2 separate regions of the Homo sapiens genome follow, and region 2 is linked to region 1. Evidence: promoter capture Hi-C in human tissues and cell types (Jung and others, 2019). All regions are on one chromosome and are shown on one strand. Each heading gives the region's core, a stretch centred on a gene start or on the middle of the fragment in contact. The rest is flanking DNA. Distances are from core to core; before and after follow the strand shown. Region 1 holds the start of CCDC12 (coiled-coil domain containing 12). Region 2 holds the start of ARIH2 (ariadne RBR E3 ubiquitin protein ligase 2).

What was found. Contacts are between HindIII fragments. The study calls those that stand out against the background at their distance.
Region 2: a contact is called between the fragment with the promoter of ARIH2 here and the fragment with the promoter of CCDC12 in region 1, in 1 of the 25 tissues and cell types used here (small bowel).

Annotation. Positions count from the first base shown.
Region 1 is chr3:46,975,454-46,981,269 of GRCh38, reverse strand. CCDC12 (coiled-coil domain containing 12) reads left to right here and starts at 4,525. Exons shown (of 7, transcript NM_001277074.2): 1 at 4,525-4,633. The coding sequence starts at 4,538. It overlaps NBEAL2 (neurobeachin like 2), which reads right to left and starts at 1,604. Exons shown (of 54, transcript NM_015175.3): 1 at 1,358-1,604. The coding sequence starts at 1,408. RefSeq lists enhancers at 1-549, 3,233-3,933, 4,503-4,812, 4,637-5,338, 5,339-5,816 and 1 more and silencers at 1,248-1,587, 1,688-1,877, 4,273-4,412. The HindIII fragment of the contact is 31,501 bases long and covers 1-5,816 here.
Region 2 is chr3:48,917,189-48,922,581 of GRCh38, reverse strand. ARIH2 (ariadne RBR E3 ubiquitin protein ligase 2) reads right to left here and starts at 3,740. Exons shown (of 16, transcript NM_006321.4): 1 at 3,584-3,740. ARIH2OS (ARIH2 opposite strand lncRNA) reads left to right here and starts at 3,197. Exons shown (of 1, transcript NR_161301.1): 1 at 3,197-4,794. RefSeq lists enhancers at 426-926, 2,610-3,360, 3,361-4,112, 3,838-4,307, 4,113-4,863 and silencers at 3,418-3,497, 3,568-3,667. The HindIII fragment of the contact is 21,005 bases long and covers 1-5,393 here.

The sequences.
Region 1 (5,816 bases), core at 3,276-5,775:
GGTTTCACCATGTTGGCCAGGATGGTCTCGATCTCCTGACCTTGTGATCTGCCCGCCTCGGCCTCCCAAAGTGCTGGGATTACAGGTGTGAGCCACCGTGCCCGGCCAGGGCTGTGTCAGTTTTACAGGCAGGAAGCAGAGGCTCAGAAGTCGAGTTCGATCTGAGTTATACCAAAGAGGGACTCTACTCCATGCCTGGCCTCCTGCTGGGGCCTGGACCTCTCACAACCTGAGCGGACTGAAGAGGCTGTGGTCCTTCTGGCCTGGACTCCAGGTCCGTGGAAGACAGTGGGCCAGCCTCCTTATGGAGGGCCAGCGTGTCTGAGCATGAATTCCCCCCACTGACAAACTGTTCAGGGCACACAATGGTCCATTGTGCCCAGGGCACACCTGAGCCAGGAGCATGATGCCAGGCAGGTGCAGGGAGGGAGGTGCTGGGTGAAGGGGAGGGGAGTGTTACCCTGGGATCCCTCCCTGCTGTGGGTACAGAAGGAAAATGGGGGACTATGTGTGTGAGACGGTGTGAGTGATACCAGGTTCTCAGCTGATGGGACACCCACGTCTGAGTCACTCCCCTCACCTTCTGACTCCACCTGAAGTATTTTCTGAGATGGGTGGGGAGCTCAGGAGGAACGGGCCTCCCTCCAACCTTTTCAGACATCCCTCAGGGCCTCAAGGACCCACCCTCACCCTGGGCATCCAGAGGAAAACCTTTTCTTCTGCTCCTAGAGAGGTCCTGGGTCTACCCCTCAGAATGGGGGTGGGGTGGGGTGGGTCATTTCAAGTCAGGGAAGAGCTTATCACAGCCTGTTCGCTGGGGTGTGGGGGGATGCAACTCAAGAAGGACCTGAAGTGGGAGCATTCCCCTTCCACACACCTCCCTACCTTGGCCCACACCCCCAGACCCGTTGGCCACGACCACCCAATCAGGCCGCGCCCAAGGGAGAGGCAGCTCATAGACAAATTGAGTCCCCCTCCCCCTAGCCTCCTGGCCAGTCTCCAGGTCTCTCCAGGTCTCAGTTTCCCCATTTGTAAAAAGGCCAAGTGTCCGGCCGCCTCGGCCCAGGCCACTCTCCTCTAGCAAGAAAGACTCAGGCTGCACGGTCCTGCTCGCGGGGGTGGGTTGCTATGAAGTGCACGACCGCGAGCTCTGTCCCCAAGGCATAAGTGCCAGAGGCACCCGGCGGGCTGGGGGCACACACGTGTGTGCGGAGCCGGAGCATGCCCTGCGCGCGCGCGCCCGCGCGCGCGGCTACGCGGCCCCAGCGGCGCGGGGCGCCAGGTGCAGCAGGCGCGGGGCGCGCGAAGCTGGGGGCACCGCGGGTGCGGGTGCGGGCGCGGGGCGGGGCGGGCTCACCTGCGCGTAGTAGAGCAGCCACAACTCGTACAGCCGCTCCGAGGCGGCCATGGCCCGGCCCGGCTCCGGCCCTGCTGCGCGCCACCTGTCGCCGCCTCCTCCGCGCCGCCCGCCGGTTGCCCTCGGCCAGGCCCATGGGCGGAGGGCGTCACTCCGGGGCGGAGCGGCGCGGTACTACTGGGGAAGTCTGCGGCTGTGGCCTCCGCGGCGCAGAGCCACCCAAGTCTGCTCGCTCCTCCTCCTCACTGCCGGCCGCCGCCCAGCTTCCTGCACTTCGCTGCAGTCACCGCCGCCCCGCCTCTCCTGGGACCATGTAAAGGGCGGAGAGCCTGGCAGGAGGAGGGGCCTATGGGCCGGGCGGCCCGGGAGGGTGCCCCGCTGCCCTGCCCCACCAGTGCCATTGGAAGGGCCAGCCTGAGCCTCCGGGACGAGGGTCGGGGTGAGGAATTCCAGACTTCCCCAGGGTCTGAATCCGCCCAGGACGCTGCTCGCCTGACTGCATTTGCCGCCATTCAGGGAAGGGGCGGCGGGCCGCGTGGAGGTGGCGAGGGTCCTTCAACAATAATCTCCACCACCACCATGACGACCCCTTGTAGCGCTTATCAAATGCCAGGTGCTACTCTGTCGCTTTATGGGAAGACCGAAACGCAACTTTTGAGCTCTAGCTGTTTGTGGAGTGTGATGGCGGGAAGTTAGAGAGTAGCAGGACTAGCCTGAAATACCTTCGGGGCCGCGGTGCCCTCCCAGATCCCAGAGAGGCTTAGACCGTTGCCACGGGTCCCCCTCCCTCCTCCAGGAAGCCTTCCCAAACGCTCCAGTGGAGGGGCTCCCCCCATTCCCCAACTCCAGGGCCCAGAACTTGCTTCACATATGTTGTTTCTTTAACCTCAACAGGTGGGTGCCTCATGGCTCTGTTTTTTGTTTGTTTTTGAGACAGAGTCTCACTCTGTCGCCCAGGCTGGAGTGCAGTGACTCGATCTCGGCTCACTGCAATCTCCGCCTCCTGGGTTCAAGTGATTCTCCTGCCTCAGCCTCCTGAGTAGCTGGGACTACAGGCGCGTGTCACCAGGCCCAGCTAATTTTTTGTATTTTTAGTAGAGACGGGGTTCCACCGTGTTAGCCAGGATGGTCTGGATTTCCTGACTTCATGATCCACCCGCCTCGACCTCCCAAAGTGCTGGGATTATAGGCATGAGCCACCGCACCCGGCCGGCTCTGTTTTACAGATGGAGAAACTGAGGCCCAAGTTGACCAAATGAGGACCACTTGGGCAGCAGGGGCAGGGACCCAGGCTTGACTGACTCTTTTTTGGGTCCCTGCCACCATCACCCCGTGCCCCCTTCCCCATCCCCTTACCTCACAGTCTGGACACGGGGAAAGGGGCACGGGGTGATGGTGGCAGGGACCCAACCCCTGGTGTTGGGCAGGGATCAGGCTCTTTGTTGGGGCTGGGGAGAAGTTTTCTGGGCCCAGAGGGGTGCTACTCGTTCCAGGAGTTGACCAGTCTGGAGACTCCTAGACCTTGGTTGGCCAAGACAACAGAGACCCTGTCCTGTTTTGTTCTCCCAGCTTCTTGGTTCACCTCTGGCCTTTTGTCCTGCTTCATCCATCATAGCTCTGAGCTGAGGTTTCCTGAGCACCTCCAAACTGCATGCCAGGCCTTGGCAGAGCAACCCATCCACTACAGGGAAGAAGGCTTAGACAGACCCAGGTTAGTGAGGACAAGAGGGTTAGTGAAGGGAGGGCTAGATCTGCAGTCTGTGGCCCATGGGCCTCTGAAGGGAGTTGGAAGGGGAAGAGTGGATGTCCACCTGTAGCCAGCTTGGGAAGGGAAGACTCAGGGAGGGAACAGCCTAAGAGGCTAGTTGTCCCCTGGCAGTGGAGGTGGAGAGGGGGCGGCATGGTCTCCTATTCCCAAGTGAGAGGGGGTGTGGCTTTGGGGACCCCCACATACTGAAAGAATATCTTGACTTCAGCCTAAGTGGTCTCGCGGTTATCAGGACACTCTAGTTCATGCAGGAAAGAAGACTCTGGCAGCTTCTGCTGGGTAGCCATGAATCTTGTGGCGACTTGCAGTCGAGGCCACCCCAAGTCTTTCTAAGCTGGGGATTGGGGGCAGTACTTGAGGCCCACTGGACCCAGGTTGGGGTTTGCTCTTCCCCGGGAAAGGTAACTTGACCCTGAGGACTTTGCTGCTCCAGGAGGGGATGGGAATGAGAGGGGATCATCTTTGAGTCCAGAGGGAAACAGCCATACAGTCAGGTCCCCCTCACTGTGCAGGCTTTGTCTGAGCTGAGAGTGGTCACAGAGGGGCTTAGGGGCGCTTGTCAGGTGAGTCCGGGGAGCCACTGACAGCTGCAGAGGTGTAAGTCATACCTTGTATTAGGGTGGGATCGAAGTGGAGGATCAGGGAAGGCTTTTTTTTTTTTTTTTTTTTTTTTGAGACGGAGTCTTGCTCTGCTGCCAGGCTGGAGTGCAGTGGCACGATCTCGGCTCACTGCAACCTCCGCCTCTCTGGTTCAAGCGATTCTCCTGCCTCAGCCTCCCGAGTAGCTGGGATTACAGGCACGCGCCACCACGCCCAGTTAATTTTTGTATTTTTAGTAGAGATGGAGTTTCACCATGTTGGCCAGGATGGTCTCCATCTCCTGACCTCGTGGTCCGCCCTCCTCGGCCTCCCAAAGTGCTGGGATTACAGGCGTGAGCCACCGCGCCCGGCCCAGGGAAGGTTTCTTGAAGGCATTCGAGCCTTGTCAGGTCAAGTGGACAAGGATGAGTCAGGGCATTCCAAGAGGCCAGCATGGAGTGATTAGTGTGGTTAGTACTTGGGCAAAACCGGAGCGATCGACGCACTCTTTTCTCCTTCTCTCAGGTCTGAATTCCACTTGCTGCTCTTTCACTGATCAGCGTTGGATAAATCGAGCCTTAGCTTTTTTTTTTTTCTTTTTTTTTTTTGCTGGCTCCCCACCCACTAGGCAAGTTGTCCGGAAGAATAAGGGCGGGGCGGGGCGGGGCGGGGCAAGGCGGGGAGGGCTCGCCCATAATAACCCCGCATTGATTGGCTTTCAGGACCTCCCAGTCTCTCATTCTCGTCCTTGGATTGGCCGCGAGACATTTATCCACTCTCCTTAGGCCTGCGCGATGCAAGACGGGAGAAAAGGAGGGGCGTACGCGGGCAAGATGGAGGCAACTACGGCTGGTGTGGGCCGGCTAGAGGAAGAGGCGTTGCGGCGAAAGGAACGGCTGAAGGCCCTACGGGAGAAAACCGGGCGCAAGGTGAGAAGTGTGGAGTGAGGGTCGCAGTTGAGGCGTCCAGCGTTCGGGGTCCGGGTCGCGCTTGAGGAGAGCAAAGGGCTAATAAGGAAAGACAGCTGCCGAGGGCGCGCATGCGCGGGCGCTAACGCATGCGCGAGAAGACGGCGCCCTCCCACGATGTCTGGGGCTGCTTGGCGTGGGACTCCTCTGGCGCTGGTGCGGTCGTCGCGCATGCGCGGGGGTGGGCAAGGCAGTGGTCAGCGACCCGCAGTCCATCTGACTCCTGCTTCCCGGGTGTTGCTCGTGTAGGTATCTAGGGCTGCCTGTAGGTTCAGATGCTTGTTGGGTTAGGCGTGATTTGTTCCGTTCCTCTATGGCCTAGCTGGTCTTTAACCCCCGCCTTCGATTCTGAGTCAGACAGACTCCCCAGTCCGGCAGCACTCCTTGGACAGGGCAGCAAGTGACAGCAGTGGGTATACAGCCGGAGTCGTTTCGTGCAAAAATCAAAAAGAGGCCGGGCACGGTGGCTCACGCCTGTAATCCCAGTGCTTTGGGAGGCCGAGGCAGGCGGATCACTTGAGGTTAGTAGTTCGAGACCAGGCTGGGTAACATGGTGAAACCCCGCCTCTACTAAAAATACAAAAATTAGCCGGGCGTGGTGGTGCGCGCCTGTAATCCCAGCTTCTCGGGAGGCTATGGCAGGAGAACCGCTTGAGCCTGGGAGGCAGAGGTTGTAGTGAGCCGAGATCTCGCCACTGTACTCCAGCCTGGGCAACAGAGCGAGACTCCGTCTCAAAAAAAAAAAAAAAAAAAAAATCGAAAATAAAAGATTTAGCCGGGCGCGGTGGCTCACGCGCCCAGTACTTTGGGAGGCCGAGGTGGGCGGATCACGAGGTTAGGAGATCGAGACCATCCTGGCTAACACGGTGAAACTCTGTCTCTACTAAAAATACAAAAAAATTAGCCGGGCGTGGTGGCGGGTGCCTGTGGTCCCAGCTACTTGGGAAGCTGAGGCAGGAGAATGGCGTCAACCCAGGAGGCGGAGCTTGCAGTGAGCCGAGATCCTGCCACTGCACTCCAGCCTGGGCGACAGAGCGAGACTCCGTCTCAAAAAAAAAAAAAAAAAAAAAAGAAAAGATTTATTTCTAACTAAGGGTGGGCCTTAGAAATTGGGAACGAGGGCCGGGCACAATGGCTGGTGCCT
Region 2 (5,393 bases), core at 2,491-4,990, 1.9 Mb before region 1:
TAATTATATTGACAAGAGTTACATGACCTTCTAAAAAAAGAAAGTATTCAGCTGGGTGTTGTGGCTCACGCCTGTAATCCCAGCACTTTGGGAGGCCAAGGCAGGTGGATCACCTGAGGTCAGGAGTTCGAGCACCTGTAATCCCAGCTACTCGGAAGGCTGAGGCAGGAGAATCACTCCAACCAGGGAGGCAGAGGTTGCAGTGAGGTGAGATCGCGCCACTGCACTTGAGCCTGGGTGACAAGAAAATTCGTCTCAAAAAAAAAAAAAAGAAAGTAATCTAAGTAAACAGGTAGCAATAATTTAATCTCAATTCTCTCTCTCAGTTTGAAAGACCACTTCTTTTTTTTGTTTGTTTGAGACAGGGCCTCCCTCTGTCACCCAGGTTGGAGTGCAGTGTTGCCATCTCAGCTCACTGTAACCTCCACCTCACCCAGCTGAAAGCCTGCTTCTTTACTCCAGTATTTCTGTCCTTCAGATTCTCAACTACCACAATTTCAATCCTAAATGTTATGTAGATGTTGACCAAGCAAATTGTAACTGACTTAAAATTTAACTTTTACTACAAAATCACCTCCACTGTGGTAATCTAACACAGAATAATGCTAATATTTCAGATCTCACTTTACTCATGCTGTCGTGGCTCATTTATGTCACATTACTCATAAATGTCGTGGTGGTGCATGCCTGTAGTCCCAGCTACTTGGGAGGCTGAGGTGGGAGGATTTCTTGAGCACAGGAGGTTGAGGCTGCAGTGAGCCAAGATCACGCCACTACACTCCAGTCTAGGCGACAGAGTGAGACCCTGTCTTCAAAAAAGAAAAAAAAAAAGAAAAATTCCAGGACCACGTGTGGTGGCTCATGCCAGTAATCCCAGCACTTTGGTTTGGGAGGCCAAGGTGGGTGGACGGCTTCAGCTCAGGAGTTCAAAACAAGCCTGGGCAACATGGTGAAACCTCACTGCTACAAAAAACACAAAAATTAGCCAGGAATGGTGGCGCATACCTGTAATCCCAGCTACTCGGGAGGCTACGGCAGGAGAATTGCTTGATCTGGGAGATGGAGGCTGCAGTGAACCGAGACTGCACCACTGCACTCCAGCCTGGGCAACACAGTGAGACTCCGTGTCAAAAAAAAAAAAAAAAAAAAAGAAATTGCCCACAGGCTTTTCACCAACCAAATATTTAGGTGGGGAAAACTCCAGGCTCCTCCAAAAAAAAAAGAGAGAGAACTCCATTTCATACTAAATGTTCTAGGTGCAGATTTAAATGAAAATTTAATTTTTAATTATCTCAAAGTTAAATACCCAAATTCTACTTGAAAAAGTGGGCCGGGCACGGTGGCTCACGCCTGTGATCCCAACACTTTGGGAGGCTAAGGTGGCAGATCACAAGGTCAAGAGTTCGAGACCAGCCTAATCAACATGATGAAATCCTGTCTCTACTAAAAATACAAAAATTAGCTGGGCGTGGTAGCATGCGCCTATAATCCCAGCTACTCAGGAGGCTGAGGCAGGAGAATCGCTTGAACCCAGGAGGCGGAGGTTGCAGTGAGCCGAGATCGCGCCACTGCACTCCAGCCTGAGAGACAGAGCGGGACTCAAAAATAAAAATAAATAAATGAAAGAAAGAAAAAGTGCTGATCTTGTTCCAAGGGGACAATATTTCTTTTCTTTTCTTTCTTTTTTTTTTTTTTTGAGAGTCTTGCTGGAGTGCAGTGGCGCGATCTCGGCTCACTGGATTACAGGCGCCCGCCACCATGCCTGGCTAATTTTTTGTATTTTTAGTAGAGATGGGGTTTCACCGTGTTAGCCAGGATGGTCTCGATCTCCTGACCTCGTGATCCGCCCGCCTCGGCCTCCCAAAGTGAGGAGGATTATTTGAGTCCAGGAGATTGCAGCGAGCCATGATCACGCCACTGCCCTCCAACCAGCCTGGGTGTAATCCCAGCTGTAATCCCAGCTACTCGGGAGGCTAAGGCAGAACTGCTTGATCTGGGAGATGGAGGCTGCAGTGAACCGAGACTGCACCACTGCACTCCAGCCTGGGCAACACAGTGAGACTCCGTGTCAAAAAAAAAAAAAAAAAAAGAAATTGCTCACAGGCTTCTCACCAACCAAATATTTAGGTGGGGAAAACTCCAGGCTCCTCCAAAAAAAAAAGAGAGAGAACTCCATTTCATACTAAATGTTCTAGGTGCACATTTAAATGAAAATTTAATTTTTAATCATCTCAAAGTTAAATATCCGAATTCTACTTGAAAAAGTGGGCCGGGCACTTTTTCAAAAAAAATTTTTTTAAAGGTCATGCACAGTGGCTCACGCCTGTAATCCCAGCACTTTAGGAGGTCAAACCGGGAGGATAGCTTGAGCCCAGCAGTTCAAGACCAGCTTAGGCAACCTATTAAGATCACGTATCCACAAAAAATTTTACAAATTAGCCAGGTGTGGTGGTACGTGCCTGTGGTCCCAGCTACTTAGGAGGCTAAGAAAGGAGGATCACTTGAGCCCAGAAAGTCGGGGCTGCAGTTAGCTGTGATCGCCGCCACTGCACTCCAGCCTGGTGACAGCAACTTTGTCCCGCCCACCAAAAAAAAAAAAAAAAAAAATTTCCTCCAGAGCCAAAGTCACATGTTCAGGGGACCTAACAACCAACCATCCTGGGCTTGCCCACCACGCACAGAACACGTAAGTTTTAGTGAGTCTGAAGACGTTTACTCCAGATATGATCACTAGCGCTGAATTCAGGTCATTTACTAACTACACCTCCGAAGAAAAACGACTTGGCACAAAACTAGAAATCAGCAATTTCGTTTCAAAATCCTACACTTTGTATCTGTCTTTTCTAATACGGTGACCACTAGCCACATGTGGTTATTTAAATTTAATTACACTTAAAAAGTAAGTAAAATTTAAAATTTAGTTTCTCAGGTGCACTAGCCTACAGGTCAAATGCTTAACGGCCACGTGTGGCTAGTAGCTACCATGCTGAACAGCAAAGGTAAAGAACATGTCGCTATGACAGAAAGTTCTATGGGACCAGGCAATGAACAGTACTAAGGAGAAGTCATCCAAGAACGCGGCTGCCCAACCAGCTTCTGGCGAGGCGGCGGCACAGCTCCGGGGCCGCACATCCCTAGGGGCGCCGCGGGCTCCGGGATATTCGCGCGGACGCGGAGCCCGCGAGCTGGGGATACCCTCCACAGGCGGGCGTTAAACCGCGCGGGCAGCGCTGCGAGAGCTCCCAAAGATGACTCGAGTGGTGAGCCCCGAGGCGGCGCGTTTCCCCGCCGCGCCAGACAGGGAGAGAGGGCCTAGATGTGCCGGCGCCGGTTGGTCAGAGGCGGTGGCCTCTGACCTTTCCGAGAGCTGAGAAGGCGGCGGGAGGAAAAAAGGCAGACACACGCTGGGCGCCCGGCCGCTGACGGCGGGTAATGCTCGGACAACGTGCCGGCGACGGGGAGCGCCCGGGCCTCCCGGGCGACGGCGAAGGCGGAGTCCCGGCCCGGCCAGGGAGGCGCGCGGAGAGGCCCCCCCAGCGGCCAGCCAAGGTAAACAAGGCCGTGACGTGCGCCGCGCACTTACCGGGAGCTGCGGCCTCGCGGCCGCTGAGCCCGAACAAGCCAGACCGGGTCAGGCCGGGCCAGAGGGACCGGATTGGGGCGAAGCGGCAGCGGAGGCGGCGGGCCGACGCCGGTCAAGCCCGCGCTGCTTCCTCCAGAAGAGTCGTCCCCACAGCTCCGGAAGTGCTTGGCGCCGTTGCGTCACTTCCGGATCGGGGTCGACCCACGGTCGCTCGGGTCGCGACAGGCTCCCGGCTAGAGGGCCTGTTTAGCGCCGCCTCCTTGAAACTTAGCGCTCTGACCCAGAGTCTGACCAGGGTACGGCAGGCGCCGACCGCGTCTGGAGCCACTATTCGCCTACCAGCGTCTCCCGTCGAGATGTTTTTAACCAGCGCGTTTCTCACCGGCTTCTCATTTCACTGTTTGTACTCCGGGATCGGGCACGGAGAAGACATCCTGGCGTCAGTGGAGCAGATAACCATTGTTTCTCGGCCGCTATCTGGTCAGAGGGGAGCTGGGCCGGGAAATTCTGCCTACACCCCGAGGCGGTCGCAGGGTGGCCCCAGAGCCGCAACCACACCAGGCTTTCGCTTCCCCTGCCGAGGCCTCGTTCGCCGCGCAGTTCTCCGACTTACGGTCACCGTGCAAGATTGCATCTTAACTGCCTTGCTTGCAGTTTCTTTTCACAGTATAGGAGTTGTCATCATGACTTCCAGTTACCTTCTGGGACCGGTTGTCAAATGATGTGGCTAGAGACGGAGGCTCACTCAGATTGTTGCTGCACCACAATGGAAATGCCAGTATGAAGCCGCTGATGTTAGGAAGGCTCCAGGTTGTGCAATTCCATAGACAACAAATCAAATCATTTCCAACCATACTGGAGTCGCGTATATACATATTCAAGACACCTGTGCAGGCCGGGCGCGGTGGCTCAAGCCTGTAATCCCAGCACTTTGGGAGGCCGAGGCGAGTGGATCACGAGGTCAGGAGATCGAGACCATCCTGGCTAACACGGTGAAACCCCGTCTGTACTAAAAGTACAAAAAAATTAGCCGGACGTGGTGGCGGGCGCCTGTAGTCCCAGCTACTCGGGAGGCTGAGGCAGGAGAATGGCGTGAACCCGGGAGGCGGAGCTTGCAGTGAGTCGAGATGGCGCCACTGCACTCCAGCCTGGGCGACAGAGCGAGACTCTGTCTCAAAATAAAATAAAATAAAATAAAAAATAAAACAAATAAAGACACCTGTGCTGGCTGGTCGCTGTGGCTCATGCCTGTAATCCCTGCACTTTGGGAAGCCGAGGTGGGAGGATCGCTTGAGCCCAAGAATTTGATGTAGTGAGACCCCCCTCCTTTCTACAAAAAAATTAAAAATTAGCTGGGCGAGGTGGCACACACCTGTGCATCCCAGCTACTCAGGGGGCTGAGGTGATATAGGATCGCTTGAGCCGAGGAGGTCGAGGCTGCAGAGTGCCAAGATCGCACCACTGCAGTCCAGCATCGGTGATAGAAGGAGACCCTGTCTCAAAACAACAATAACAAACCATACAATGTAGAAAGCCATTAAAAATCATGCCGCGTGGCCGGGCACCGTGGCTCACGCCTGTAATCCCAGCACGTTGGGAGGCCGGAGCCGGCAGATCACGAGGTCAGGAATTCGAGACTGGCCTGACCAGCATGGTGAAACCCTGTCTCTACTAAAAATTTACAAAATTTGCCGGGCGTGATGGTGGGCGCCTGTAGTCCCAGCTACTCGGGAGGCTGAGGCAGGAGAATTGCTTGAACTCGGCAGGCGGAGGTTGCAGCGAGCAGAGATCGCGCCACTGCACTCCAGCC